3 separate regions of the Homo sapiens genome follow, and regions 1 and 3 are each linked to region 2. The links are contacts of gene promoters, found by promoter capture Hi-C in blood cells and fetal thymus (Javierre and others, 2016). All regions are on one chromosome and are shown on one strand. The core of a region is centred on a gene start or on the middle of the fragment in contact, and the rest is flanking DNA. Distances in the headings are between cores, read along the strand shown. Region 1 holds the start of AP2A2 (adaptor related protein complex 2 subunit alpha 2). Region 2 holds the start of MIR210HG (MIR210 host gene). Region 3 holds the start of SIRT3 (sirtuin 3).

Region 1 (4,792 bases), core at 1,444-3,943, 360 kb after region 2:
TGCGTGCCTGTAATCCCAGCTACTGAGAAGGCTGAGGCAGGAGAATCGCTTGAATCCGGGAGGTGGAGGTTGCAGTGAGCCGAGATCATGCCATTGCACTCCAGCCTGGGCGACAGAGCAAGACTCCATCTCAAGGAAGAAAAAAAAAAAAAAAGAAAGATACTGAGGCTAGGCACAGTGGCTTGTAATCTCAGCACTTTGGGAAGCCAAGGCAGGAGGACTGCTTGAGCCCAGGAGTTCAAGACCAGCCTGGGCAACATAGTGAGACTCCATCTCCACAAAAATCAGAAACTTAGCCAGGTGTGGTGGCGTGCACCTGCAGTCTAAGCACTTTGGGAGCCAAGGCAGGAGGATGGTTTGAGCCCAGAAGGTCGAGGCTGTAGTGATTCATGATTGTACCACTGCACTCCAGCCTGGGAGTCAAAGGGAGAAACCCTGTCTCTAAAATTAAACATAAATAAATAAATAAATAGGCCAGGCATAGTGGCTTGCATCTGTAATCCCAGCACTTTGGGAGACACAGGCAGGCGGAATGCTGGGATTACAGGAGTTCAAGACCGGCCTGGGCACCGTGGTGAAATGCCATCACTACAAAAAATAAAATAAAGAAAAAGAAACTGTTTCCTAGGACTGCGCACTCCCGAAGCTGGCCTCTCCCGAGCCGAGGAGTGGCAGTGGTCAGAGAGGCCCACATGGACTCAGACCCAAGGCTGGGACTGGAGTGAATCATCTGGAGGGCTTGCGTGTCTGCAAGGGCAACGACGCTGGAAGGAGGTGGGAAGTCTTTTGCATGGCTGCATGTCGGGCCTTCTGGGACCCCTAAACACTCTTGTGTGGACGGGAGGATGTCTGTGGGAATCCCAGAGCTGGCACTGAGGAGGAGTCTTCCGAGTGGGCGGAGGGGGATGCCTGCCAGGCCCAAGCCCTCCTGTGGGCAGCCCCTGCAGCACCCCCATTGCCCTGCTCTGTGAGTGGCTGCTGGTGGGGGGGCACAGTGGTCTGCTTGTCTCGGTCTTCTGCACTGCCACTGCCAATGGGAGCTTGGATTAGGCATGCCAGCCTCCTGACGCCCAGAGCCCATGCTCTGCCCACGTGTGTTAGTGGACGGTCCTCGTGACTGCTGGGACTGTCCTGGAGAGCAGCCCAGGACCCCTCACATGGCACAAGATGCTCTTGTGTCCAGAATGGCCTTTATTTGTTGTCAGGGACAGGGGAGGGAAGCTTCTTGGTGGAAGGGAGAGGCTGAAGAATGAACAGCCCCGGGACCACTTTCTCTGCCAGGAGGTGGCACTGGGAGAGGATAGGGACTCCGGAGGGGTGTACCGTCCTCCAGGAAGCCCTCTGCTGGGTCGGCTCCGTGCCTCTGTCTTGGGAAGTGATGGACTTGGTTGCCTTATGCTGACTGGGGTCTGTCACAGATCTTGGTTTTCCCCAGGAGTTCTGGAGGCCCAGAGCCTGGGTGCGGCACCCGGTTCATTGGGGAGGGGCATGGGTCCTGTGCCCTCCTCCTGGCCGGGCTCCACCAGGGCTAAGCTCTCATCTGGGGCTGCGGAAGTGAGCCAGGGTGGGGACAAAGCCCTGGCTGGTGGGTCTGGGCCAGTTCCAGGTACAGGGTCCAGATCCCCCCACTGCAGCAGGAGGGAGCTTCCTGTTCAAAGCCATCTGGCTCTGGGAAGGACAGTGAGGCAGGGCCATCTGCTTCCCCACTCCCTGGGGTCTCTTCCTGGCCGGGACCTGGAGCTGTGCAGCCTGGCCCAGCAGGTCCTCCCTTGCGATGTGTCCACAGGGGTGGGCCTAGGCCTCCAGCTTGCAGTGGTGCAGAGGGCTGGGGAGCAGAGGGGGCCCTGGCAACAGTGGCCAAAAGTCCTGGCGCCGCCGAGGGACTAGATTCCGCAGGGGCTGCCGCCCCCGGCCGCTGTCACTGGGGTGGGGTGGGTGGTTGTTTCTCTGCAGGCCCAGGTGATGTGGAGGGGGCACCTGGGCTGCCACACAGACCCTGGGCTGGGTCGGGCACGGGGCCTGCCTCGCCCCCAGCTCAGGGACCGCAAGAGATGTGGCCCTGGCGGCTCAGGGCGGCAGGAGGGGCGGGCCAGCCCCACCGTCTCAGGATACCGTGCTAGGGGAGGGTTTCCTCGCCAAAGGCCGTCCAGCGGCTGTGACCCCTTCGCCTGGAGCCCCAGCTTCCTCCCGGCGCCGCCCTCCCGCCCCGGCCCCCGCGGAACAAACAAGGCCCTGGCCTCGGAGCTGCCCCGCCGCCCAGCGCTCACAGGTCGTTTATTCCAAGTAAGAAAACGGAGACTGCTCGGGGCAAGCTAGCGGGGCCGAGGCCCAGGACGAGGCCGTACGCGTGTGCCTGCGTGGCCGCCTCTTTTGCAGTGACCACCAACAACGACAGAGGCGGCCCGCTGCACACGCGGGTTCCCGCCCGGACCCACGCCCTTCCCGTGGGGGACGCGGGCGGCATCGCCAGCTTGGCGCGGCCCCGGGACGCGAACGCGTGGCTTCAGCGGCTCCGTCCATGGTGTCCGCCTGCAGGGGGCGCCCCCGCGCCTGCCTCGACCGGCTCGCCCCCGTGCCGCGGACGCGCGCGCGCTGCCTCACGCGACACCCGCCCCGGCCGCCGTCCGTCGTCGCTCGCGTGCGTGCGCGTGCGTGCTGGTGCGGGCGCCGTACGTGCGCGCGCGCGGCGGCCCAGAAAGCGGCGCTGGGACCCTGAGGCGGCCGTGGTTAGGCGGCTCCCCGGCGGCTCCTCCGCGGCGGTGACGGCGACCGCACTCCCCGCTTCCCGCTCCCCGCGCTCCTCCGCCCGGGTCCGCCAGCCGAGGCCGCTCCCGAGCGTCGGAAGATGCCGGCCGTGTCCAAGGGGGACGGGATGCGGGGCCTGGCGGTCTTCATCTCGGATATCCGCAACTGTGAGTGGCGGGGGCGGCGTGGGGCCGGGGCCGGGGCCGCCGGCGGAGACGGGGTCTGGGAGCGGAGGCCCGGGGCGGGGCCTCGAGGCGGGGGTGCAGGCTGGGATGCGGGCGGGGCCCGGGGCCTGAGGGTGCGGGCGGCGCTCGGGGTCTTGGGGTACCGGGTCTGGGGGTGGGGGCCAGGGTGCGGGGTGGGGGTCCAGGGTCTGGGGGTGCGGGCGGCGCTCAGAGTCTTGGGGTATCGGGTATGGGGGTGCGGGTCAGGATGCAGAGCGGGGCCCTGGGTCTGGGGGTGCGGGGTGGGGTGTCCAGGGTCTAGGGGTGCGGGGTCTAGGGGTTTAGGGCACGGCCCTTCATCCACATCTCCACTCCCGTTTGCTGGTCCGTGCGGGGGGCTGCGGCACCACCAAGGGGGTTCCGGGCCAAGACGCCCCTCCCCAGCATGATGTCACCTTGGTCTTTCTAGTACTGGAGCGTTTAACCCAGCGTTTTCCAAAACGGCGTGGATTTTAGCTTTGGGAGCAGAAATCTGGAAATCAGTGTCTTCCCAGGAAACAGCTTTGTGACCTGGGTTCTGGAGGCTTATTAACCCCTGATTAGATCTCACCTACGACGATTAAAATGACTCATTCCCGGAGGGAATCTGGACACGAGCAGCAGTCGGGGTGTGGGATGGCCTCGCTGCCTGCTGCTCCAATCACAGACCTCGTTCTCAGCCCCGTGCCTGTCCCCTCGGGGTGGGAAAAATCCACACCAAACCGTTAAACAAGCCAGGAAGGCTGGGCCTGTTAGAAGGATGTGCAGGGTGGCTGGGTGGGTGCACCGGTCCACCAATTAATTTGACTTTGGTGTGCAGAACCTCCTCTTGGCTTTCAGAGGCCATCTCCTTATTTAATTTGAGGGAGAAACAAAGCCAGTTTCCTGTCTGCTGCGTTGATTTTTTTCCTTGTTATCCAGCAAATAGTTGACTTCATGATTTTTGTTTTTCTTTTTTTTGAGACAGGGTCTTGCTCTGGCTCTCAGGCTGGAGCGCAGTAGTTCCATCACGGCGCACTCAACCTCCCACCTCAAGTGATCCTACCACCTCAGCCTCCGGAGTCACTGGGACTACAAGCGTGCACCACCACCATGCCTGGCTGATTTTCGTGTTTTTTGTAGAGATGGGGGGGTCTCGCCATGTTGCCTAGGCTGGTCTCGAAATCCTGAGCTCAAGTGATCCACCTGTCTTGGCCTCCCAAAGTCCTGGGGTTACTGGCGTGAGCCACGGCACCCTCATAATTTTTAATGTGTATTTTGAGGGACTGTTGTGATCTTCCCTTTGAATTCTCATCTCCTTAGACGGGATGGAGGATCAGGAGGATAGTGGTTCTCCCACACTCTGTGGAAGGGTAGAGGACCATCTAACCCTTCCTGTACTCTGTTAAAAAAAAAAAAAAAAAGCATAGAGCTGGGTGCGGTGGCTCAAACCTATAGTCCCAGCATTTTGGGAGGCTGAGGCAGGTGGATCTTTTGAGCCCAGAAGTTTGAGACCAGCCTGGGCAATGTGGTAACACCCTGTCTCTACAAAAAAATACGAAAATTAGCTGGGCGTATTGGTGTACACATCTATAGTCCCAGCTACTTGGGAGGCTGAGAGAGGAGGATCACTTGACCCCAGGAGGTTAAGGCTGCAGTGAGCTGAGATCGCGCCATACTCCAGCCTGGGTGACAGAGTGAGACCTTTCTCACAAAAAAAAAAAAAAAAAAAAAAAAGGCTTAGAAACACCCTCAGATCAGCACTTTTACGAGTAGCATTTTTTCTCTTTGTTTGTTACATAATGAGACCAACATGCATTTTGTAAAACTAAGTGTGTGTATTATTTCTTAAGGGGACCTCTGGG
Region 2 (4,537 bases), core at 1,595-4,094:
GCGACAGATCGAGACTCTGTCTCAAAATAACAACAAAAAACAACTCACAATGTTTAAGAAAATTTATAGATTTGTGTTGGGCTGCATTCAAAGCTGTTCCATGGGCCAACAGTTGGACAAGTTTGCCCTAGATCATGGGGTCTTTGTGCTCTGAGAATGGGCGAGTTTGGGATGGACTCAGCTTTCTGTTGGTTGGCCCTGGATCTGGATCTGGTGCTGCCCCCTTTCTCTGGAGCACACAAAGGGAACAAGAAGGCCTGGACTTGGGCAAGGAAGCCATCCACAGGGCTCCCCAGAAGCCAGGGCCACCAGGAGCTCACTGCTGTGCAGAGGCAACTCGGCTTGGTTATTTCTTGCCTGAGGCAGGGAACAGGGAATGCAGGGAAGCCAGGCAGCAGCAGGAGGCTCCAAACGCTGGTGTCAGCAAGCCAGAACCCCCACCTGACTTCACTCCTGTCTGCCCAGCTCACAGTCGCCTGTCACTGGGAGGTCCTTGGGGCCTGGACCTGCCTGACCTGTGGCCCCAGAAGGGGCTAAGCCCAGAGTCACATGGGATGGAGCCTGGAATGCATAGGCCAAGTGGGTTGTGCCTGGGCAGCAGGCCTGGGATATGAGGGGCCTACTCCTCCATCCACAGCCCCGACCCACATTCTGGAGGGATGGTCGTACCTCTGTGACCAGCCCTCCACACCGTCACATAGGCCAGCAGGGGGCAATGCCAGGTGCCATCCAGAGCCCACCCCCATGTCCTCCCGGAGGTCATGAGCTCTGCCCTACGTACCCCAGCCCCACAATGGGAAGGAGGCATGGAGCTGGCAGAGCATGCGCCACGCCGTCCCTGTGTGTGTTTCTGAGGAACTCCTGTTCACTCTGAGGCCACTGCCTAGGTGCCCGTCCCTGGTCTGCTGCTGCTGGCTCTGATGAAGCTAACCAGCCTTCTTCCCCACCAAGAGGGTGTCCCAGCAGCAGCTATGGCTATGTTCCGGCGGGGGGAAGGCGGGGAGCCTTCCTCCTCACTGGCTGTTTCATTTTTTTATTTTTTTGAGGCAGAGTCTCTCGTCACCCAGGCTGGAGTGCAGCGGCGTAATCTCGTCTCGCTGCAACCTCCACCTCCCAGGTTCAAGCGATTCTCTTGCCTCAGCCTTCCAAGTAGCTGGGATTACAGGTGCCCACCACCATGCCTAGCTAATTTTTGTATTTTTAGTAGAGACGAGGTTTCACCATGTTGCCCAGGCTGGTCTTGAACTCCTGATCTCAAGTGAGCGATCACCCGCGTCTGCCTCCTGAAGTGTTGGGATTACGGGTGTGAGCCACCACACCCGGCCTCTCACTGGCTGTTTCAGGTGAACCAAATCCCATGGCCCCAAAAAGTGGCCAGAGTGCTTCAGATCACTCAGCAAACCTTTGAGTTGCTGAAAAGTTTACTTTTGAGTTTTAAACTGTACTTTGAAAACTATATTGTGAACTGTGTTGACATGAGGAAAGGCTGGGCTCCCTGAAAACATCCAGTTCCACAGCAGGGCGGGCCCAAGCCCAGCCAATCCCCAGGCAATGCAGGGCAGGGATCCCACCTGGTGTAAGTACGGGCAGAGGGCAGAGCCAGGCTGTATCGAGGGGCGGCGCTGGGACCCTCCTCGCCCAGAGTTCCTACTCATCCCCAGCACAGAAGTGCTCTGTAGGGCCAGCTGAGGACACCCCGGTTCACTGAGGGTGGCCCACAGTAAGTCGCCGTCTGGCAGTAAGTTAGCTCTGCAGGTGTGGACCCCAAGACCACACACAGCCTTTCTCAGGTGCAGGTCCTGCCAAGCCTCACTTCGCAGTGGTGACAGGCAACCCCGTCAGGGCAGGGAGCTTCCAAAGGCCAGTCCGAGTCCATGCCAGGCGTCCACTAAATCTGCCTCTCCCTCTCCAGCGAGCAGGTGCAGCCCTCAACTCCTGCAGGCCTGGGGAGCGGAGACAGGGCCTGTAGGCTCGGACACGACCCGGTCCTGATTTTAACAGTAGACTTGAGAAGGCAGGCTCAGCAGACAGGCTGCTGGAGGATCCACCCGCTGTCTCCCGCAGCGGCCCCACTGAAGCGGCAGAAACACACAGAAGCACCAAATCTGTCACTCTCTTCCCGTAGGAAGTCCCCAGAGGTGGCCCTCCGGAGGATGGTCCTGTTGGCTGAAGATATGACCACACCTGTGCCTGCCCAGGGCCACCTTCAGCTTGGCAACAGGAACTCCGCACACTGGTACCCTGGACACACAAGGAAAAGAAAGTTCCCTCCAAGAGGGTATCTGGCCCAGCCTCAGCCCCACCAAGCGGAGGGCAGCAAAGCCCCCGAATGATTTCGCTTACCCCCACCCGCCGTCCCTGCTGGCCAGACAGGCACACCCCGTCCATAGGGCACCCCCTCCCCACGGTATCCAGCTGCCCTCGCGTCCCCGTGTGGCCGCTCGCCTGCCCGCCAGACCCGGACACGGGGCCAGGAGGGTCGCGCTGCCCAGGCACAGATCAGCCGCTGTCACACGCACAGTGGGTCTGGGGCAGCGCAGTGTGCGGTGGGCAGGGGCTGCCCTGCGCCTGGAGGCACTGCCGGGTGGGCGGGCGGAGGGATTGACCCCACCCCCGTCCCCTCCAACTTGGGCGTCCGAGCCCCGCCGCGCCTGCCCAGCCCGACCCCCCGCAGCCCCCGCGGGAGGGCGGCCTCTGAGGGGCGCCCCGCCCGCCAACCTGGGATCCCTCGCGCGTCACCTGCGACCCCGGCGCGGGGCCGTCGCCGGCTCTCGGCCCAACTTCAGCTGCGGCCGCTGGCACCCTCTCGCCCCCCGGCCCGACCCGACCGGCCCCGGGCCCCGCGGCTCCACGCCCAGCCCCGTATGCAAATGACCTGGTCCCTCAGCCAATGGCCGGCCTAGCCGGGCCCGCCCTACCGCAACGCAGCCAGTGGGCGCGAGGGGGGTTCGCGACGCCCCGCCCACCGCCGCGCGGCCCTTCGCGGGCGAGGCCGGCGCGTTCTTTTCTGCACGTCTGCCCGGGGAGGGGCGGCACCTGCCGGGCGGGGCCTGCGGGGCGCCAGCTGCGAGGGCGCGGCGGGGCCAGGGCGCGTCCCCCGGCCGGGCGGATGGTACGGCCCGAGGTGGTCCTCCTCCCGCCGCGCGGTGGTATGGCCCGGGCTCGCGGGGCTTCCGGGCTGGGCGTGGGGCGCAGCCTGGCGACGGGTCCTCCGCCCGCGGGTGTGCGTGGGGCGGCAGGGCCGGCCGGGAGCTGCCCCTCTTCCCGCGGCGCGGTGGTACGACCCGGCCGCCTCCGTGCCCCGCACCCGCGTCCCGCGGGCCCGCCCCCCCCAACCCGCTGGGCGCCCGGCGCACGTATCCCGGGCCGTGACCCGGGTGGGGCCTGCGCGGGCCCGGACACGGCGTCCTCGGGACGCACGCACCACCCCCCGGGCGGCTTGGGGTCCCCAAAGGACGCCCGGGTCCGTCCTGCTGGCGAAGAGGGGGCTCTGGCTCTGCCTGGTTTGCCTGGCGACCCCCACGGGGCGCCCTTGGGGGCTCTGGGTCCCTCCTGCGCGCTCTGTCTCCGCGGAAGCCTCTGGAGCCTGGAGGGGGTGCCTCAAGGGCTCAGGGGTCTTCGCAGCCCTGTGCCGGTCTTTGAGGGGACGAGGCGAGAGAATCCTGTCTGTGCGCTGAAAACGTGTAAAATCAAAGGAGCCTTGACGGTTTGACCTTCGTTAGGACTCGCAGGGCCAGCTTCAGACGTGGAAGTATCGGACTCCGGGGTGGGGCTCCAAAGTGGCAGCCAAAGGAGATTTGGCCGCCGGCCCCCCTTGGCACTGTCACCCTGGTCCTCGGCCCCGGGCCGTCTCCCCTCAGCTCCCTGGCCCTAAACTCACCGCCCTGCTCTTTGTCCTCCCCTGGCCCCATGACCTCCCTGCCTCGGCATCCGCGCAGGCCTGGGCCGCAGCCTGCCCCCTGCCCCAGCCCCGGCGGCAAAGTGCTGGGGCCCCAGGGAGCTTCCGAACCAGCCCATGTCCTCAGGGGCTTGAAGGCTGGGGACAAAAATTCAGATGCAGAGTCTGGGGTGACTCAGACATGATCAGCAAGACATGACCGAGGTCTTGCTGACCCCTTGACCCTTGGCCCCCGATAGAACCGAGTGGCTCCTTGCACCTGTGGCTGCCTGTGGATGGGGAAGGTGCCCAGAGGATCACGGAGCCACTCGGTTCTATTGGGGGTCAGGGGTCAGCAAGACCTCGATCCTGTGGGTCGTGAAGGAGCCTCTAAGAGTCAGTGGGGTCCCTGAGAAGGCCCACGTCTTCATGGCAGGGCAGAGGCTCCTAGGGCAGTCAGACTAGGGGACAAGAAGGGGCAAGAGGACAGGGCAGCTCTGTGTTCCTGTCGTGCCCTGCTGACGTGAACCCACTTCTGCCCCCAGTCCTGCCAATTTCACAGGCACCTTTTCTCAGCATCTGTAGTGAGTGGGATGGTCCCTCCGCCAAAAAGAAGATATATCCACATCCTAATACCCAGGCTTCCTAAATGTGCCCTCA
Region 3 (4,390 bases), core at 1,522-4,021, 330 kb before region 2:
AGCAACCAATCTCAGGATAGCAAGAACGAGCATGGCTCTGCCCTCTGCACCACCGCCACCCTCGAGAATGAGCATGTGTGTCTCCCCAGGCCTCTCAAAATAATCACCTTTCTTAGACGACTATTGGGGTACAACAAAAAGCAGTCATAAATCAGAAATCAAGACTTACTTGGGAGCAAAAAATTCAGGTTAATGGGAACTGTGCTCATTTCATAATTCAGTACACTCAGTAGGCACTCAACTCTGACTGACTGCAAACCTCCAAAGGGGTCTCCTAATGAAAACTGGTTAAGGAGTCAAGAAGCAAAGAGGGAAAACCCTGGTTCTAAAACCATCTCACCACCTATTAAGCGCCCCACTTCACACAGCATTTCAGACATCTATTCACTTAAGGTCGTTCCCCAAACAGCTACTGTGCTCCTACTAAACACGAACTGTTAAGAGAAGCACAAAAGGAATGAAAGTTATTATTGCTGTTGAGTGCCTGCTGAGGGCAAGGTATCACGAAGGGTGCCTGAGTACATTCCTCATTTACGTAAATAAAATGTTTGTGAGTCACTGAAAAACACATAAACGGCGTTTTACCAAATGTCTGGAACATACGTAAGATGTATGGCTTAAAGTACATGCTGCATGGTGTGAAATTCACTGGGAGTGGGGGACCCTGAGGGGCAGGCATGGGTGCAACCTGGGAGGGACACTGTGCAAAGGACACAAACAACAAATTCAGAGAGCTCAAAAATCCAAAGCCAAACTGGAGGAAGCCCATGCAATGGACTACTCCTCACACGCAGCCCTATGCCTCCTGCTTTAGGGCCAGTGGTAGCAAGGATTTTTGTTTTGTTTTGTTTTGTTTTGTTTTGAGACGGAGTCTCGCTCTGTTGCCCAGGCTGGAGTGCAGTGTCGCGATCTCGGCTCACTGCAAGCTCCGCCTCCCAGGTTCACGCCATTCTCCTGCCTCAGCCTCCCGAGTAGCTGGGACTACAGGCACCCGCCACCACGCCTGGCTAATTTCCTTGTATTTTTAGTAAAGACGGGGTTTCACTGTGTTAGCCAGGATGGTCTCGATCTCCTGACCTCGTGATCCGCCCGTCTCGGCCTTCCAAAGTGCTGGAATTACAGGCGTGAGCCACCGCGCCCGGCCGCAAGGATTTGTTTTAACAGTTTTGCAGAGTATCACAGATATTAGAATGCGCTCCACGTGTTTGTAGGTCCTGGTCCCTGCTCCATCCATAGCACCTAGAACAGAGTCTGGCACAGAATAAGAGCTCAGTCAGGGCTTCTTGGATGAACGACTGACTCTTCGGGATCTTTGTTTTTTTTTGAGACGGAGTTTTTGCTCTTTCGCCCGGGCTGGAGTGCAATGGTGCCATCTCGGCTCACTGCAACCTCTGCCTTCCGGGTTCAAGTGATTCTCCTGCCTCCGCCTCCTGAGTAGCTAGGATTACAGGCGCCCGCCACCACGCCCGGCTAATTTTTGTAATTTCAGTAGAAATGGGGTTTCACCATGTTGGCCCAGCTGGTCTCGAACTCCTGACCTCGTTATCCACCCGTCTCATCCTCCCAAAGTGCTGGGATTACAGGCGTGAGCTACCGCGCCCGGCCAACTCTTCAGGATCTATTAAACTTTTTTCTTTTTTTTTTCCCACAGGTAGATAAGAGTCTTGCTCTGTCACCCAGGCTGGAGTGCAGTGGCTCAATCATAGCTCACTGCAGCCTTGAACTCCTGGACTCAAGGGATCCTCTTGCCTTAGTCTCAGGAGTAACTGGGACAACAGGCTTGCGCCACCATGCCCGGCTAATTTTTAAATTTTTGGTAGAGATGGGGGTCTCGTTATGTTGCCCAGGCTGCTCTTGAACTCCTGGCCTCGAGCGATCCCCGTCTCAGCCTCCGAAAGTGCTGGTATTACAAGTGTGAGCTACCACTTCGAGACTCACTTTTCACCAACATTTTCAGCAGTTGTGTCAGACAGCAAGTCAATGTGCCATTATTTACTTAAATATTCATCCATTATAGGGCATCTGATACCTAACAACCATGGACCTTAAGATTTTTTCCTATGTAGCCTCAGTTCTTAGATGCAATTACTATGGAGACGGGTACGATCACATGCCAGTGGGAGTATTAACCGCACAACATTTATGAGGGATCATTAAAGCGTTAAATGCATATACTTTTGGACCTAGCAATCCCAGTACTAGGAATTTATGCAAACAGTGAGGTGCCAACAAGGTTATTCACCACAGCATGATGCACAATAACTAAAGGTTAGAACGTATTTCAATGAGGGAATGGTGAAATAAACGACAAAACCCCCATAAGTGACGTCCACAGATCAGCATAAAGACGGAGGCCCCGGTGTTGGAACGCACGTAAACTCCCAGACATGCCGCAAAGGAAACACGGCAAGGTGAGAAAGAGTGGGCGAGGTGTCGACAACGAACACGCAAGAAGTGCTTGTCCTTGCCCAAAATACCTCGAAAAGAAGAAACTGGGAGCTGCTGCCCTCGGCTGCCTCCGGAATGCCCTGGGCACCTCGGGTCTGGGAGGCCTCTGCAAGGGGCGCGCCGGGTCCAAGGGCTCACCGCGGGCCCCATGGCTGCCTCTCAGCCCCGCACTCACATCGTCCCTGCCGCCAAGCACCAGCCGACAGCCGCAGGCCTGAAACGGCCCCACGCCTCCCCCGGCCTCGACCCGTTCAACTACCCGGCCCCACAGCCGGAGGGCTGCCGCGGCGCGCCAACCCCAGAACGCCATGTTCCGCGCAGTCCAAGGAGTCCTCCGGACTCGCCCCGCCCCCGGCGCCCCGGCCCCGCCTCCGCCTCCCACCCCCGCCCCCGGCGCCCCAGCCCCGCCTCCGCCTACCGCCCCCGCCCCCGGCGCCCCGGTCCCGCCTCCGCGCCCCGCCCCCGCCTCCTTGCCGACGCCTCCGGCGCGCCCAGGTAGACGTAGAGGCGAGTAGAGGAAGTTCCCTAGTCTGGTGTCTCATCTCTCGCCCCGGAGGTCAAACCTGGAGCCAGCATTTCTGTACCCTGCGCTCACACCTTTTTCAACCCGGATGGCGGTGATAGTTAATACTTTCTGAGCGCTTTTACTATGGTCAGGCATTATATTTACACCTAATCCTCGCAAAACACTACTGGGAAGATCCTCATTTGACAGGAGCAATTCCGGGTCACAAAGGCTGACACCACAAAGCTAGTCCGTAGCGGGTTCGACCACAGGCGCCCACACTCTTTGACGCCTCAATGGCACAGCCAAGTGCGCGGGAAGTGGGCTGCAAACGCCGGAGAGTTTTGTCCGGAGCGCAGAGACGCGCTGTAACCGAGCAACCAGCGGGGCCCGCCCCCGGCCTGCTACGGCGCTCCCAGCCTGCCCCGCGCCGCTCGGCGCCGGAAGTGAGTGAGCATTTCCGGCAGCCATCCCCGCGGTGCTGACATCCCGGTTGTTCTTCTGTGCCGGGGGTCTTCCTGCTGTCATGAAGGACGTACCGGGCTTCCTACAGCAGAGCCAGAACTCCGGGCCCGGGCAGCCCGCTGTGTGGCACCGTCTGGAGGAGCTCTACACGAAGAAGTGAGCGCCGAGCAGACGGGCCCTGGGCCCCGGCGATAGAGGGAGACGGAGGGGGCAGGCGGGCGGAGGAGCGGACCCTTGATGGGCTGAGGGCGCCCAGACCCAAGTTGGGGGGAAACGGGGACGTGTAGCGACCGGCTGTGCCGGCAAGGTTTGCTGAGGAACCTTGAGTGGCAGGGTCGAGGAATAAGAGGGATGACAGACCACGAGGGCCAAGAGCTGTAGCCAGGATGTTTCGGTCTGAGATTCACTGCTTCCTTAACGGGGGACTGAGACTGAGGCTTCTGAACTCCTACCTCGGGTCTTACTAAAACGGTTCAGGAGTAGCCTTTGATTTTAGCTCTTGATTCCATCTAACAAGCAAACACACTTTCAGGGCCACCACCCACTTTGGGAAACATGTTGGTGATTCGTGCTTAGCCTTGTCATAGTGTAACTGTATCTACAGTTATCTTTCTCATGGTCTGGAGTTGATAAACCAGAGGCTAGTACAGCTTTGCTGTTTTCCCTATTCATTCTGCAGCTGGTTGCACGGGGTGCAACCACTTCCGCCGTCCCATTGTCTTTACCTTCCATTGTATTTCTCATGGGCTTTCTGCCCCTAGAAAGATCTTAAAGTTTAGGTTTGTTTAGAAACAGGATGAATTGCAGAGCAATTAAATTCTTGCTAAGCACTAACCTCCTTTTAATATGAGTAGAATAAATTGCTGGCATTGGGCTGGAGCTATTCCATAGAAAATACATCTCCTGTAGTAACCTCCCTGTTAACCCTAGCATTTAATATAATACCTTTCACATAGATGTTCCATACATGTT

The links. The method cuts DNA at HindIII sites, captures the fragments that hold promoters and counts their contacts. A CHiCAGO score of 5 or more calls a contact.
Region 1: a contact is called between the fragment with the promoter of AP2A2 here and the fragment with the promoter of MIR210HG in region 2, in 1 of 17 cell types (neutrophils). The highest score is 7.7, in neutrophils.
Region 3: a contact is called between the fragment with the promoter of SIRT3 here and the fragment with the promoter of MIR210HG in region 2, in 1 of 17 cell types (erythroblasts). The highest score is 5.6, in erythroblasts.

Annotation. Positions count from the first base shown.
Region 1 is chr11:923,177-927,968 of GRCh38, forward strand. It overlaps AP2A2 (adaptor related protein complex 2 subunit alpha 2), which reads left to right and starts at 2,694. Exons shown (of 22, transcript NM_012305.4): 1 at 2,694-2,912. The coding sequence starts at 2,846. RefSeq lists a silencer at 2,506-3,045. The HindIII fragment of the contact is 10,180 bases long and covers 1,220-4,792 here.
Region 2 is chr11:565,613-570,149 of GRCh38, forward strand. MIR210HG (MIR210 host gene) reads right to left here and starts at 2,845. Exons shown (of 2, transcript NR_038262.1): 1 at 2,740-2,845; 2 at 45-2,241. It overlaps MIR210 (microRNA 210), which reads right to left and starts at 2,586; the gene lies at 2,477-2,586. RefSeq lists enhancers at 82-636, 637-1,191, 3,777-4,527. The HindIII fragment of the contact is 23,407 bases long and covers 1-4,537 here.
Region 3 is chr11:233,571-237,960 of GRCh38, forward strand. SIRT3 (sirtuin 3) reads right to left here and starts at 2,772. Exons shown (of 7, transcript NM_012239.6): 1 at 2,478-2,772. The coding sequence starts at 2,758. It overlaps PSMD13 (proteasome 26S subunit, non-ATPase 13), which reads left to right and starts at 3,406. Exons shown (of 13, transcript NM_002817.4): 1 at 3,406-3,574. The coding sequence starts at 3,480. RefSeq lists a silencer at 2,838-2,917 and enhancers at 3,068-3,257, 3,418-3,657. The HindIII fragment of the contact is 9,250 bases long and covers 1-4,390 here.